Regions from separate parts of the Homo sapiens genome. Here regions 2 and 3 are each linked to region 1. Evidence: promoter capture Hi-C in human tissues and cell types (Jung and others, 2019). All regions are on one chromosome and are shown on one strand. The core of a region is centred on a gene start or on the middle of the fragment in contact, and the rest is flanking DNA. Distances in the headings are between cores, read along the strand shown.

Region 1 (4,439 bases), core at 706-3,205:
TCGAAACATATAGAAACTGCAGGATCATGTACTTAAGGAACTGCCAAGCAATCCAGACAAATGCAACACAGGCACGCAAGAGAGACATTTCACAAGTACAGATCTTCCAGCCGAAGCTTCAAGTCGTGGATAAGAAAGCATGTCTCAAAGGTCATAAAGTCAGTGGGTCATTTACTAAAAATACAAAGAAGCAAAGGAAAAGCAGCCAAGCCCAGCTGTAAGAACAGCAACTTCCCTGCCCTGGTATTTCCCCCCAGGCTCTGTTACCTTTAAAGCAGAGCTCCTTCTCTGAATTCCTACTTGCACCAATCAAACGGCTGAAGGTGAAAAGGGTCAAAACTAAGCAACGTTTTCCTAATTTCTTAAACAGATCATGAGCAAACCATGTACTAAATGTCCCCAATCAGCAATAATTTGTCTTCTCTGACGAGCTTGTGACATCCAGGGACGTACCCAACCCAGGTCATCCATACCTTGCCAGTGCCCATTACTGCTGTTTTGTTTTCCAAGAGAAAATGCCACCCAGTAATTAAATCAGAGGAATGAAGATCCTGGCTCTTCTACTAGCATGGATAACATGCAATAAGTAACAACAGTTCTCCGCAAATCTGCCTTTAAAGGTGAGTATGACACACTGAATATACTTGAGATATCAAAAATGTGCGGGGGCATGTTCCCCTTTGGCTCAAATGAAGACACTGATTTTCAGATCTAGCAGTAATGTGCAGCACCCCAGTGTCCTCTAGGACACACCTAACACGGGACCGGATCCCTTGGGACACAGTGGTGTGCTCCACAACATACATTTAATGGGCTGGTGCAAACCTGTAAAGTCTCTTAAAGGTCTAACGCGTTAGGATTCTCTTTAAGAATCCAGTAAATTTTGTCCCCAGTTCTGCCTGTCATTAAGCAGGAGGTATTGTCTTCTGCTGCCTAACTTTGCTATGGATCTTTTAATCCAATGTTTCCAGCAGCAACATAATCACGAGAAACTGTAGCACACTTTTCAGGGTCTAGTCTAGGACAAGCACAGCATACATGTTCTGAGAGGAATGACATAGATGGAAGCAAGACATGTTACATCCTTGTCACTTGGAAACAATTTTAGAATTTCTGCCTGTTTGGCCACGGCTGCATTCCTTTACATCACCCAGCTGAGAAGTCTGGGTCTTCAGCCTGCGCGAATGACAGTGCGTGGCAGAGCTAAAACTAGGCTAAAACATGAGTGCTGCTGTTACTCTACATGCCACAGCGCACTCACATCACCCCGAATCGGACTTAAGAAATTACACGTTAAGAGGAGACAGAGCAGGGGCCAGAAAAAAAAAGATGAAAACGGCCCGGGCCAGGCTCGCTGGGGACAGCCGGGACCCGCGGCGGCCTCGGACCGGCACCCTCACCGCGGGCGGAAACCCGTCTCTGAGCACTCAGGGAATCTGGACAAACCTGTCTCGAGGTGATGCAAGGCGGGGGCCCTGTCCTGGCCTCGCAGCTAGCTCGATGCTGGCCCGGGAGCCGCGGGCCCCTCCAGTGGGGGGGCTCTGGGGCCCGGCGACGCCCCCTTAACCAGAGCTCGGGGTCGGGACCCGGCCGGGGAGGGCGGGCACGGGCCGGGGCGAGCCAGCTGGGCCCCCCTCTCCCTCGGGCCGGGCCAGCCCAGCTCCAGCCGCAGTCCCCAGCAGCAGTCCCGGGCTGCGAGGCGGCCAGCGCAGCAGGTGCCTGCAAACGCGCACAGGTGCCCGGCCCCGCCTCCGTGTCCCACTGCGGCCGCCGTCGCCGAGTCGCGAGCGCCTAGAAAGATGGACAAATGCCGGGCCCGTGGAGGCTGGCGGCCAGATTTACAGACACCTCAGCCCTCGCGTACCCACCAGCCTGCCGGGCAGTAAGCCTCACCCCAGTGCCTTCAATGCAGAGCTCCTGGCTGCCAAGCGCCGCCGCGGCCCGACAGCATCTCCCGCCGCAGCGCCAGCCCTGCCCCTGCTTGATCCCCGCCCCGCCCCACCCCGCCCTGCCCTGCCCTGCCCTGCCCTCGGCAGCGGGCTCCGCCCCCTGCTGCACGATCCTGGGGCCCGAGGCTTCCGCCTGGCCTCCCGGCGCCAACTGGCTCTCACACCTGCCCGTCAAAGACGTTCTTCCGGGGGCGTTGGGAAGAACACACTCGGTCCTGCAAATCAAATCACCCCGGTTTGGGTGGGACTGCACTTGACCCTCCCCTTACGTAACAGCGCCTGGGACGGCCTGTCAGTCATGGAAGTATCGGCCCCCCGGGGAGGGATGGGGCAGAGACAAACAAGCGCCGGGTCACAATTGGCCAGGGCGTCTGCCAGTCACCACGGAGACCTTCCCGGAGGTTTATTCGCACAGCCCACAGCGCAACCGCCATGCGCAGGGGCTGGGGCATACGCTAACGTCTGCAAGCCAAGCTTTTGGGGAGGGCCGGGCCGCGCGACTGCCCAGTGGCTCCCATCGCTAGGTCCTACTGCGTTGGGCGGCGCTGCGAGGCCCGAGGCCGCCACGTCGGGCCCACAGGGTACCAGGGGTCAGAAGGACACTTGGCGTGGCATCAAGAAACGCCCGTTCTCTCCATCAGTGCAGGAGCTGAAGGCTGGAGCTGAAGGGAGCTCAGCTCCAAGTGGGCCCTGGGCACTAGAGCAGCCAGAGGAGCTTTGTAAATCTGTGTGTGTCGGCCCCGACCTGCAGCATCCGAGTGGGGGCCGGGGGCTGGGGGGAGGGGGGAGGCTGAGGACCAGGAATCCACATCTGTCACAGTTCGCTGCTGATTCTGGCGCACACTGAAGTTGGAGAACCTCTCCCATAGCAACATAGTTCCTGGTCTTTTTTTTTTTTTTTTTTTTTAATTCACACGCTCTCATTTGGACCTCCCGTCTGCTTTCCCATGGAGGTCTCTCTCTGGCCTAATTCTGTGACTGCTGCCAGCTGCTTTCCAGGCCTGTTCTTACCAACGGTGCCTCCCCGTGGTTAGTCCGTCCAATCTCGGCACTCCACTTCCACACTTGCGCGACAGCCCTCTCCCCGCAAGCCCCTGCCCCTTTTCTAGACACCAGAGGCACTGACCTGTCTGTGACACCGCCTCAGTGTCTTACACTCAGAAGCCGCATTCTCTGGCCGGGTTGTTTGGTCCATTTTTGGTTGCCTCTGAGATTCTGGTAAGTGACTTATTAAAGGGCAGGAAGCCAAATTCTCCTGATGTTAATCCCAAGGGTTGGTTCTGAAACCCAGCTTCCTCCCCTAGCTGAAAACACTTCTGAGCCACTTCCTTTTGTCCCCTTAGGACACATTTAGGAATGTTATCATGCCTTTTAATACGAGTCTTAATACAGAAAGGCAGGCAAGCAGGAAATCCTTTTTTCAGGCCACAGGTGGTCTCCTTTGGCACCTCTGTGGCCCATTTCCTCCCAATCTTCTTTGAAGCTCATTATCCTCTGCAAAGCTTTTTTTCTGCTTTCCTCCTTTCCCCAACCTTCAGTTTTCACCGAGGACCCACATAGGTATTTCTCCAGCTCACATCTATCCACTGAGCTTCCAATGCATGTCATCAACTGCGTACTTGGCACCGGATGACTCAGACGCACACCAGCATCAGACTGCACATGGCAGGAAAGCCAACTCAAACCGGCTTACTTAGCAAGGGGATTTCTCTCCCATGGGAGGATTGTCTCCAGAGGTGGTGCCCTGGTCTTCAGGCTCTGCTTTCCTTGCAGTCCCTGGAATTGCACTTTCAGGCTGGTAGCAAGATGGCCGCGGCACACCCAGGATCTCACAAAATTAAAAGTATCCCTTTCTTCCAGTGGTCCCTTTTGAAATACATGACTACCTTTCCCAGAAGCTCCGCAGAAGAAATGCCTGCAGGTTTCAATGGCCAGAAGTAAGTCTCTGGCCACAACGAAACCCAGTCAACGGCAAGTGGAAGGAGTCCGCCATGATCGACTTGGGCTGAGATTTTCCCTAGATCTCTGCCTGGACTTTAGGCAGAGGAGAGCCATGATCAGATTTGTATTTTGAAAACATCACTTTGTGCGGAAAACAGATTGTAGGGGCACAAGGCTCACGGGGCAGTTGAGGAACCATGGCAGTAGTTCAGGCAACAGAGAATCGCATGAATTTGAAGGTAGAGATGGAGAATTGAATGAGTTCCAGAGATGTTTAAGACGGGATGATATAGTTTGGATATGGTTTGACCCTTCCAAACCTCATATTGAAATGTGACCCCCAATGTTGAAAGTGGGGCCTGGTGGGAGTATTTGGGTCATGGAGGCTGATCCCTCATGAAAGGCTTGGTGCTGTCCTGGCAGTAGTGAGTTCTTGGCAGTAGTGAGTGAGTTCTATTAGTTCCCGAGAGAATTGATTGTCAAAAAGAGCCTGTCACCTTCTCCTCCCCTGACCACTGCTCTCTCTCTTGCCAAATGATTCCTGCTGGC
Region 2 (4,439 bases), core at 932-3,431, 1.7 Mb before region 1:
CATGTCAGCTCTAGGGAGGCTCCTTGCCCGCTGTGGGGGCTTCCTGCCGCTGATATGCTGGGCACAGAAGTGAGCAGATACTCCATGGACTGGTACCGATACATTGTAATGCACACACACAGGACTGCTGTTTTGTGTGCATGTGTATTTTTTGTGTGTGTGGTTTTTATTTTTGGCATATGTGAAAGAGTTTCTGCAAAACTGATTTCACAGAGCAATAAGTCACCTAAGAGGGTGTCACCAGCCATTTAAAGTGCACTACTGAGGTTTTTAACGTAATAAATATATTCGAAAGGTAGTGTGTCACGGCCCGGAGCCTGGACTCTAGCTCCATTTAGCTCCGACAGCCTTGTTTTTACTGCCCCTTAGCGCCTCACTTTTAAAGTGACAGGAAACTAATTTCTGATTACAAATCAATGGGTTAGGGTGTCACCTCCGGACAGTGAATTTAGCTGTAAATCCAAGGAGTCACTCATGAGCCTAGGAAATTGGGGGTCAACACAGAAAGGCAATTGCTTTATACAATGAAAATGGAAATACATTTGCGAATACAGCTCTTCAGAACTCGGTCTCTGGGGAAGGCCCAGGTAGCTCCAGCCTGCCACTCAGTCCCTCCTAACAGGCCCAGGGCCCAGCAGGATGGGTTTTCCAAGTGCCTCCAATGTGGCCGCAAAATTTCATTTTGCTGTAGAGGCAGCAGACTTTCCCCAGGCTGAGGCCTGAGTGAGGTCTCTTTCTCCCCGGACTACGCCGCGCCTTGGCCACATCATGTTAACCAAAACTATCTATGCTCCTGTCATGTAAGATACCTTTTGATGAGGCCCCTTTTTTCTTTAAGCTTTTAAGATAATCTTAGAGAAATCATCAAGCTATAAAAAGAAATCAATGAAAACAGAAAAGGTTCCCATCACCCCGAAAAAAATCCATAACTTTTGCATTTTAATAGAGACGCTACAGGACCAGACCCGTCATTTTCTTTCTGATGTGTTCCTTTGATTTCCCGCGCATCTCACAGGGCTCTTGACTTTCTTGAGAAAGGGATTATTGAATTGTGTGTCTCCCTCAGATGTACTTGATCACTCAAGTATCTGTACTTAAGAATGTTAGAGTCTGTTCAGCTGTTGCCTCTTTGGGAGCTCATCGGGGCTTGTCATCTTAATATTAATTGGGTTTTGTGCAGGAATCTCAAGTCCCACATTGAGTGGCTTTCAAGAGAGAAGATTATGCCTAAAGCCAGATACAAAGACAAACATATTTAGCACAACAATTATGATAATTGCAGAAACATTCTGTCATGAAATAAGCAAATCTGATTAAGAGCCCTTCTACATTAACAAATATTAATCTGATGTCTTCGGTCTAACCTGGTTTGAACATAAGAGGCTTCTTATGGTTTTATGTATTAACAGATTTGTAGAAGCTGAACATATAGAGCCTAATAGTATGAGACAGCCAAGCCAGGATAGTAAAAGGATCTTTGCTGAATGTAATCCACTTAAATTTAAAATAGACACAGATAGGATCATAAACCTCAAATCAAAATTAAAATGCACCCTGCCAATGAGACTTTTCCTATCATTCCAACCACATGGTAATTCAGAAACATATCATGGAAAGCATTATTAGTGGTCTTTTTTGTTAGAAAAAAAAATGAGGTCAATATCTTTATGGTAAGTCATCACAATAAAACGGACAGTCACTTGAAACTTTCCAGACATTCAACCTGGTTGGATATTGGAAGCAGTGATATTCTTGCCAAGCCAGAGAGTTAATTTTATTTGTAATTTTCAGCTGCTTTCAGTTTAATTGCACAATTTCCTTAATTATTAAAGTTCATTCTGCATACTTAAGTTCATTAGCTATTGTCAAATGGGCAAATTACTTTGCAATTTTAATATTTGTTGGACAAAGCTGTGTTAATAGATTCACCTCTCCAAACACAGTTTTCTGTTTTTGTTACAGTATCCATCAATAATTGTAACCCTCCAAATCAGGAGGCAGAAACTGTATCATTTTTTCCTCTTTTTATGAATATCTCTTAAATGTTAGTGATTTTAAGCACACAGGTAGGCTTTTTTGTTTGTTTACTTGGGAAGGAGGGAAACTGGGGAAAGCAGCAGCTCTAATGACAGGCTTTGAGTCTTGCATAAATACATATGAAAACGTATATATGATAGTGAAACTTCTCAATATGTGTATGCAATTTGCATATGTCTGATACAGTCATATGCACATAATATAAACCTATAAAAACACAACATGGACTTGTGAATAATCAATAAATCAAATTTTCAATCAGGTTTTTGAGTCATTAGGCTATGTATGGTATGATACTATATGTTATACGATGTATATATACCTATGTGTGTACTTCTGTAAGTACATATTTATGTATATTTTAATTTTTCCGGTGATACATTCCATGGTATATGTGACTGCTGGCATCAGAAAGGCAATCTCTCTCTCTTCCTCTCTCTCTCTCTCTCTCGCACACACACACACACACACACACTCACACACATTCAACATGGAGCTATTTAATGCTTGTGTCTGTAGACTATATTTAAATACACATCCATGCTCTTGTAACAAAAATGTCACTTTCTATTTGGCCCCTTGCAGTTATGACACACCTTTGCCCCCATTATCTCATTTGACTCATGGATATACACTTGTTTCCTCCTGTAGATGCAGTTTACCACCCCATCTTCCAGGTAAAGTGATTCCTGAAATGTATCAGCACCTCTAACGTGAAAACAAATGCAGCCCAATCTGCTGCTGTCTGTGTCTGCCCTTGTGCTCACAGACCCACTCCAAAATGTCTGGGTGCAGATAGGTCCAGACCTGGAGGACAGAATCCCTGCCAGCATGGCTTATCTCCCCAGTAATTAGGCTTGTGTTTCTGCTTTATTAACTCCAATACAACAGCACCCTGCCCTCTGTCACCAGGGGGACTAATAGATGATAGTCGGCTCTGATTTGGAAACCATACAAATTAAATGACGAAGTGAGAGGAAGTGAAGTTGAGGCAAATTGTGTCAAGATAAGGCGGTCAGTCATTTACATAGGAGTTTTTCAAATGTTAAGCAGGGAGCTTTTGATTTTACATCTGCAGATGCAAAACTGCTAAAATAAATAAGCCCAGTTTCCTTGCTGTGTTTGTTAAACCTCAACAATATGTGAATTCTTAAATGATGTTAGGAATAATTGATTGTGGATGTTTATAACCAGGGTAACTTTTCTTCTCCTGAAGTCCCCACATTTTATTGCTTTTCCTGAGAAAGATTTTCTTCTATTAAACATAGATGTGAATCCATGTGTTTATTTTCCCAGGAGCATTGCAACAGGTCTCCATCTTCATCACCTATAGGGCAGATTTGCTTTTACATTTTTAAAACTCATGTCCTACCTCTCTAGGAGAAACAATCAAACATCTTCTGGAAGATTAAAATTACCCACGGAAAGAAAATAAAATTGAATGATGGAAAGAAAAGAAAAAGAGGCTGTCCAGCAAAGCTGATTTCCATCAGTCAGCTGCGGGAGCTGTAACAATTTGTTTAGCAATATGATTTAACAAGAAGCATTAGCTCCGGGTATGTAGCTGCCGGGTTTTGAGAAGGCTGATGAGATGTGATTATCTCCAAGCAGAAATATCAGGGTGGTTAAAAGATAATTTGAAATGAGGTTAAAAATGAAGCGACACTAAGCTTCTCTCACTTGTGTCAAAACAATCCCATCTTTTCTTTTCTTTTCTTTTTTTCCCCTTTCACTTTGATGACATTTGCTCATATTGGAGGTGGAGACATTTCTCATAGCAAACTGTAATCCTTGACTAATTTTAAATTTAATGTGGCTCTGTTTGAAAGACAGCTCTAAATTTTGATCCAAAATCAACTTCTGGATATTACAGAAAGAATTTGCAGTGTTTGTAATATTTGGTGAGCCTTAAAAGTTGCTATTTTTCACACAACTAAAGTTTCATTTCACTACGTTAACTATATTCACGGTATAAACAGCATATGTTGATATGATAAATGACATTTGGTTAGAAAATGTCTTTGAACTTTAGCTTAAAAAATGAAAACAGGTAAAAAGAAAAAACAGAATCAAATGTTAAAAACCATATGTTAGTAAATGAATATTCTCTTTCAGATTATTTAATGACCTTAAATATAATTACTGCTCCAAATGAGAAAGTTTCAAAGCCTGAGAATATTGCTTACTTTGAAAAAATGTATTTTAGTATTAGATATATGTATTCATCATCTAAGAAAAAGAAATCCACATAGCGATATTTACAAAATAAAGCAGTAACATAGGTGAGGAAAGTTAAATATTATCTCTATGTACATTAAGAGAAACAGGAATTGAGTCGCTTGCTGAAAACTTCTAAAAAGTCCATGACAAGACTTCAGATCTTGTTCTTTTGTGTAAAAGAT
Region 3 (4,439 bases), core at 699-3,198, 1.4 Mb before region 1:
TTACCCTGCCAGGACCAAGAGAATCCTTGCAGTCTAGACTAATGACTCACATAAAGTAGGCACTCATTATATAGTGAATAAATGGTTGAATGACTGAGGAAATGTGAAAAGACATCTTAAAATGCTTTAGAAATGGTAAATTACTATGCAAATATTATATGTCATCCACAAAATCACTATTATTAAGCTGCTTTTATGATGAAAGTTGATACCTTTTTTCATTTATTTCTATGCCTTGTATTAATATTTGCTAAGTGAAAACATTGATCTAGGTTTTTGTCAATTGTTTTTCCTCTAAAGCCAAGCAGAAACTTCATCTTCCATCATGTGAACACCTTGTCCAATTGGCAAATATTGACAGTAAGAAAACATCATGTTGAAATTAGCCTTCTATTCTTGTATATTATTGAAAAATCAGAAGTACAAGACCATAGGCTGTAGAGGAGCTGTGTGCACCCACCTGTGTGTGTGTGTGTGTGTGTGTGTGTGTACGTTTGCCCAACATTTTCAAACATTTAGTTTTACTACATTTACTCTTTCTGACCCGGTACAATCTCAAACTGCATACAAGCAGCAGATGTCAGTGTTGTGCAACTTTCAGGCTGACTGCTTGCAGAGGCAAGCTGTTCTTTGTCGCCTAGAGACAGAATCAACAGTCATTTGTACCCACAAACAAACACCCTTAGGTGCTAGGTAAATCGTAGAGGTCCCCCATAAAGAAACTGTAATTTGAGAAATTACACAGCAACTTATAAAGATGTAGTTGTGATTCAAAGGTTGCAATGGATGGGCACAGCATAAATAGTGGAACCTATCGTGTTTTGCTGGCCGAGAAGGAGATAGGGACACCCAGAAAGCACTGGTTTGGCTCCTTTGTCACAACTGCTGTGAGCCAAAGCAAAGGAAGGTCAGACTAAATCGGCCTCGTTTGATGAAAGAACAGTGTTTTCTATTTGCAACCCATGTGGTCAGATGGCCAAACTCCTAATATGTCCTCAAAGCCCAACATAATCTGGTTTCTGACTGCTTCTATAGCTTTCTTGGGAGCCACTCTTTCTCCTTTTTCTCTGCTGCAGCCACTGCATTCTTCCCAGCTCACAGGCTCTGCTTGTAATGCTCTTGCCACATGCCCCTGTCTCTCCTTTAGTGTCTACTCTTCAGATCTCAGCTCAAATGTCCCTTTATCCTGAAAGGTCAGGCTCCATACATCAGGTCTTTCTTTTATGGTCTCATAGTACCCTTTAATGCCCCTCCATAGACTTATCACAATTTTCAATTATATATGTGTCTGATTCTTTAATTAGTATCTGTGTACCCAGCTCCAATAAAAGTGCCAATTCCATAAAGGTAGATTATGTGGCTGTTTTGCCCATTACTGTTTCCCTAGTACCTAGCATGGTACACGGCATATGGAAGATTCTCAACATATAAATGTTAAATAAAAAAAATGTTAAGAGGATGAATGAATGGATAAATAAGTAAATTGGTGAATGAACAAATACGTGAATTGATTCCATCTACTCTTCCACTGAATAGACATCCATGTACCAGTGAGCGAATACAAGGTAGGCTGGCTTAAGAAGAGGAGAGTATCTCAAATACCTGGATATAGAGTGATCACTGTTGTTCCAGGATTCTGAGAATAACTCAGCAGGTTGAGAGACTGACCTGCACAAATGGATTCTGACTTGGGCCTACATTCTGGTGGCAGAGTTCGAGTTCTCCCCTGCAGCAATGAATTTCTGTCTAGCACTTCTGAATGCAACCATCACATACTGGTCTCCTATCAGTAAAGAAAGGGGATCAGGTTGCAAATATGTGAGGAATACAGGCCTTTCTTCAGAATCGTGTATTTGGGATGTATCATGTGACAGAGAAGAGCTTATAGACAAAGATAAAGAGAGATAAATGGGTTGATTTTTTTCTTCTAGGGTATACACCCAAAGGGGAGAATAATCTAGCTATTTTTCCTTCTTCCACAAGATGGGGCAATCGGAATGAATTTAACTACAAAGGCGGACTCACCAGTAAATGTCTTTTCCATGTTAAACAGCCCTATTCGGTCAGACCAGAAAAATGCAGCTGGTTTTGAACTTGTTTATGCAACTGTGTAGCATTTCCTGAAAATGGTAGACCTGGGGTAGACAACAGTTAGGCTGGAGGGGAAAGCCTAGGGCACTTGCCCACTCTATATTGGAGTCAAAGGGTGCTGCCCAGCTTCCAGAACCCCCAGCATTCCAGCCCCAGGGAGTTGCAAGGGTCTCTGGCTCAGAAACAGCTGCTGCAAAATTGAGCAAATTTACCATTCAGAAACATTTTCTTACATTAGAAGGAAATTCTAGATGAGATATAATGATGTCTACTTTGAAATAAATTATTGTAATATAATCAATCACAGTGTACAAATTCTAATTCTTAATATTAGTCTGCTGCTTACAGTCTGCAAGATGATTTCATTCAGTGGAATATTCCACAATGCATTAAATCAGGCCGCACATAAAATAATTATGACACTAGAGTTTTATTATTCTACCTATGACCTATGTGCACATAACCCTTCTTGCTTCTTCCTGGTTATAGGTCTATTACTAGATCATTATAAATTTTTCTTTGGAAAGAAATTAGTGGAAATGGGCTTGACAACAATTTCTAGATTAAATTAGCACTGTTCAGAAAGATAATTAATATTGGTATGGTACTTTTTTGATCATTGTCTCATTTGATTTTCCCGACAATCTGTAGGCTAAATATTACTTTCATCATCACTCTTTCACAAATATATGACATGGGATATTTACTTATTCAAGTGTCAATATGGGATATTTATTTACTTAAGTAGGCACAGCAGGTAAAACCTGGAGATAGCCATGAACATGGCCTTCAGGTTCCAGTTCTGACAGGTCATGGAAGAGAGTAGGGAAAAGAGAGAAATTAGAGAAGGGAACTAGCACATGCTTTTATGAGGGCTAAATACACATTGTATAAGGTAGGAAACCCAGCCAAAGTGGCTTAAACCTCAAAAATAATGGATTGGCTCCCATAATAGAAAAATCCAGAAGTTCTAGTTCCAAAAGATGTCATCATGGATCTAGTCCTTGAGGACAGCTAGTTTCACCTGATATTTTCAGTTCATCCAGGTTATTTCCTTGTGGTAACAAAATAATCTAAGCAGGTTCGTGTCTCATAGGGTCCCACTGAACCACATTGTTCTGGGGAAAAGAGTGTCTCTTCCTGAAGTTCTCTCACCTGTGACTCACCCTGTCATTGGCTCAAACGGGGTTAAAGGTCCATTCCTGAACCAATCTCAGCTGGGAAGATAGGCATGACTTATCGTCTTAACCCAATCAGAATTCCTACGCTGAAGCCAATTGCACTCAAACTTTCCTTGCTAACAGTGGGAGAGCTGTACATTATACAAAAAGAAAGCCAGGAGAAGGAGAAAATGGAGAAATCATAAAATATATCTACATTTTTTGGAGTTTAACAAATTAGAAAACATTGTCTCTTTTAATATATAAAAATTTATAAGAGTACTAGAACAATCCTGGTTGATACACAATTATTTTTTAAAAGCAATAAACCATTGTAAAATGTTCTGAAGAAGGCCTTAAGCATTAGCTTTAGAAAACTTAAAAACTAAATTTATAGATATTACACTAGCAACACCTGATGCCTAAAAAGCAGAGGATTGCTCAGTAACCCTGGAGAATTCAGACATTTAGAGCAGGCAAGTGTTAAGAGGTGGGAAAAAATACCAAAAACAAAAACATCCACTTAGGTTGAAAACTTGCTAGGTCCTTTATATAAACATCTTCAAGAAGTACTATCCAATGAAACCTCCAAGGGCACTCTGTCTCCTCAACCACTAATTTTTTCAAGCACCTCTGTCCTCATTACTACAAGCGTTTGGAGTGATAAGACCTCCCTATCTCACAGGGTTTTGTGACAAATAAAGGCAAGAATGTGCATAAAAGGCTTTGTTAATGTAAATGCTCACAAATGTAAGAATTATATTGATGAGAATTTTATGTATAGTTTTTAAGATGCTGTAGAAAAAAAAGACATACCTACCAAAAAACAGGTTCTACATTGACCTTAACAAAATAAATGGATGTCAGTTACATATAGCTCGCTTGCACCAACCTCCCATTTTCCCACTTCATCAATCTCAACTCTCTCAGATCTTCGCCTAATGCACTCCACATAGTACACTCTGAACTTTTTGCACAACCCAGATGGTATACATGGATCCATATGCCTGTTTTCAAGATTGGCTAATTGGCCTCATTTGCACAATAAACTATTAAGAACTCTCTAATAAAAGTCGACAATGTTGCCACACTTTGTTAAAGAGCTAAAGGTTCTGAAATGCAATGCCTATCATCACTTTATAAAAGAGCTGAATTTGAGAGAAAAAGCTCTTACAAACCCTTATTGAA

Evidence for each region. Contacts are between HindIII fragments. The study calls those that stand out against the background at their distance.
Region 2: a contact is called between a fragment that was not itself captured here and the fragment with the promoter of AKTIP in region 1, in 1 of the 25 tissues and cell types used here (dorsolateral prefrontal cortex).
Region 3: a contact is called between a fragment that was not itself captured here and the fragment with the promoter of AKTIP in region 1, in 1 of the 25 tissues and cell types used here (dorsolateral prefrontal cortex).

The regions. Positions count from the first base shown.
Region 1 is chr16:53,501,254-53,505,692 of GRCh38, forward strand. It overlaps AKTIP (AKT interacting protein), which reads right to left and starts at 1,956. Exons shown (of 10, transcript NM_022476.4): 1 at 1,894-1,956. It overlaps LOC124903690 (a long non-coding RNA gene), which reads left to right and starts at 3,127. Exons shown (of 2, transcript XR_007065069.1): 1 at 3,127-3,167; 2 at 3,488-4,439. RefSeq lists enhancers at 1,152-1,653, 1,654-2,153, 2,614-2,713 and silencers at 1,424-1,723, 1,984-2,053, 2,074-2,313, 3,034-3,123. The HindIII fragment of the contact is 2,688 bases long and covers 1,270-3,957 here.
Region 2 is chr16:51,756,630-51,761,068 of GRCh38, forward strand. All of the region lies in intron 3 of LOC105371257 (a long non-coding RNA gene), which reads right to left. Among named protein-coding and RNA genes, the nearest start is that of LINC01571, 3.7 kb to the right of the region's middle. The HindIII fragment of the contact is 4,196 bases long and covers 84-4,279 here.
Region 3 is chr16:52,068,019-52,072,457 of GRCh38, forward strand. All of the region lies in intron 2 of LINC02911 (long intergenic non-protein coding RNA 2911), which reads right to left. Among named protein-coding and RNA genes, the nearest start is that of LINC02911, 7.2 kb to the right of the region's middle. The HindIII fragment of the contact is 7,804 bases long and covers 1-4,439 here.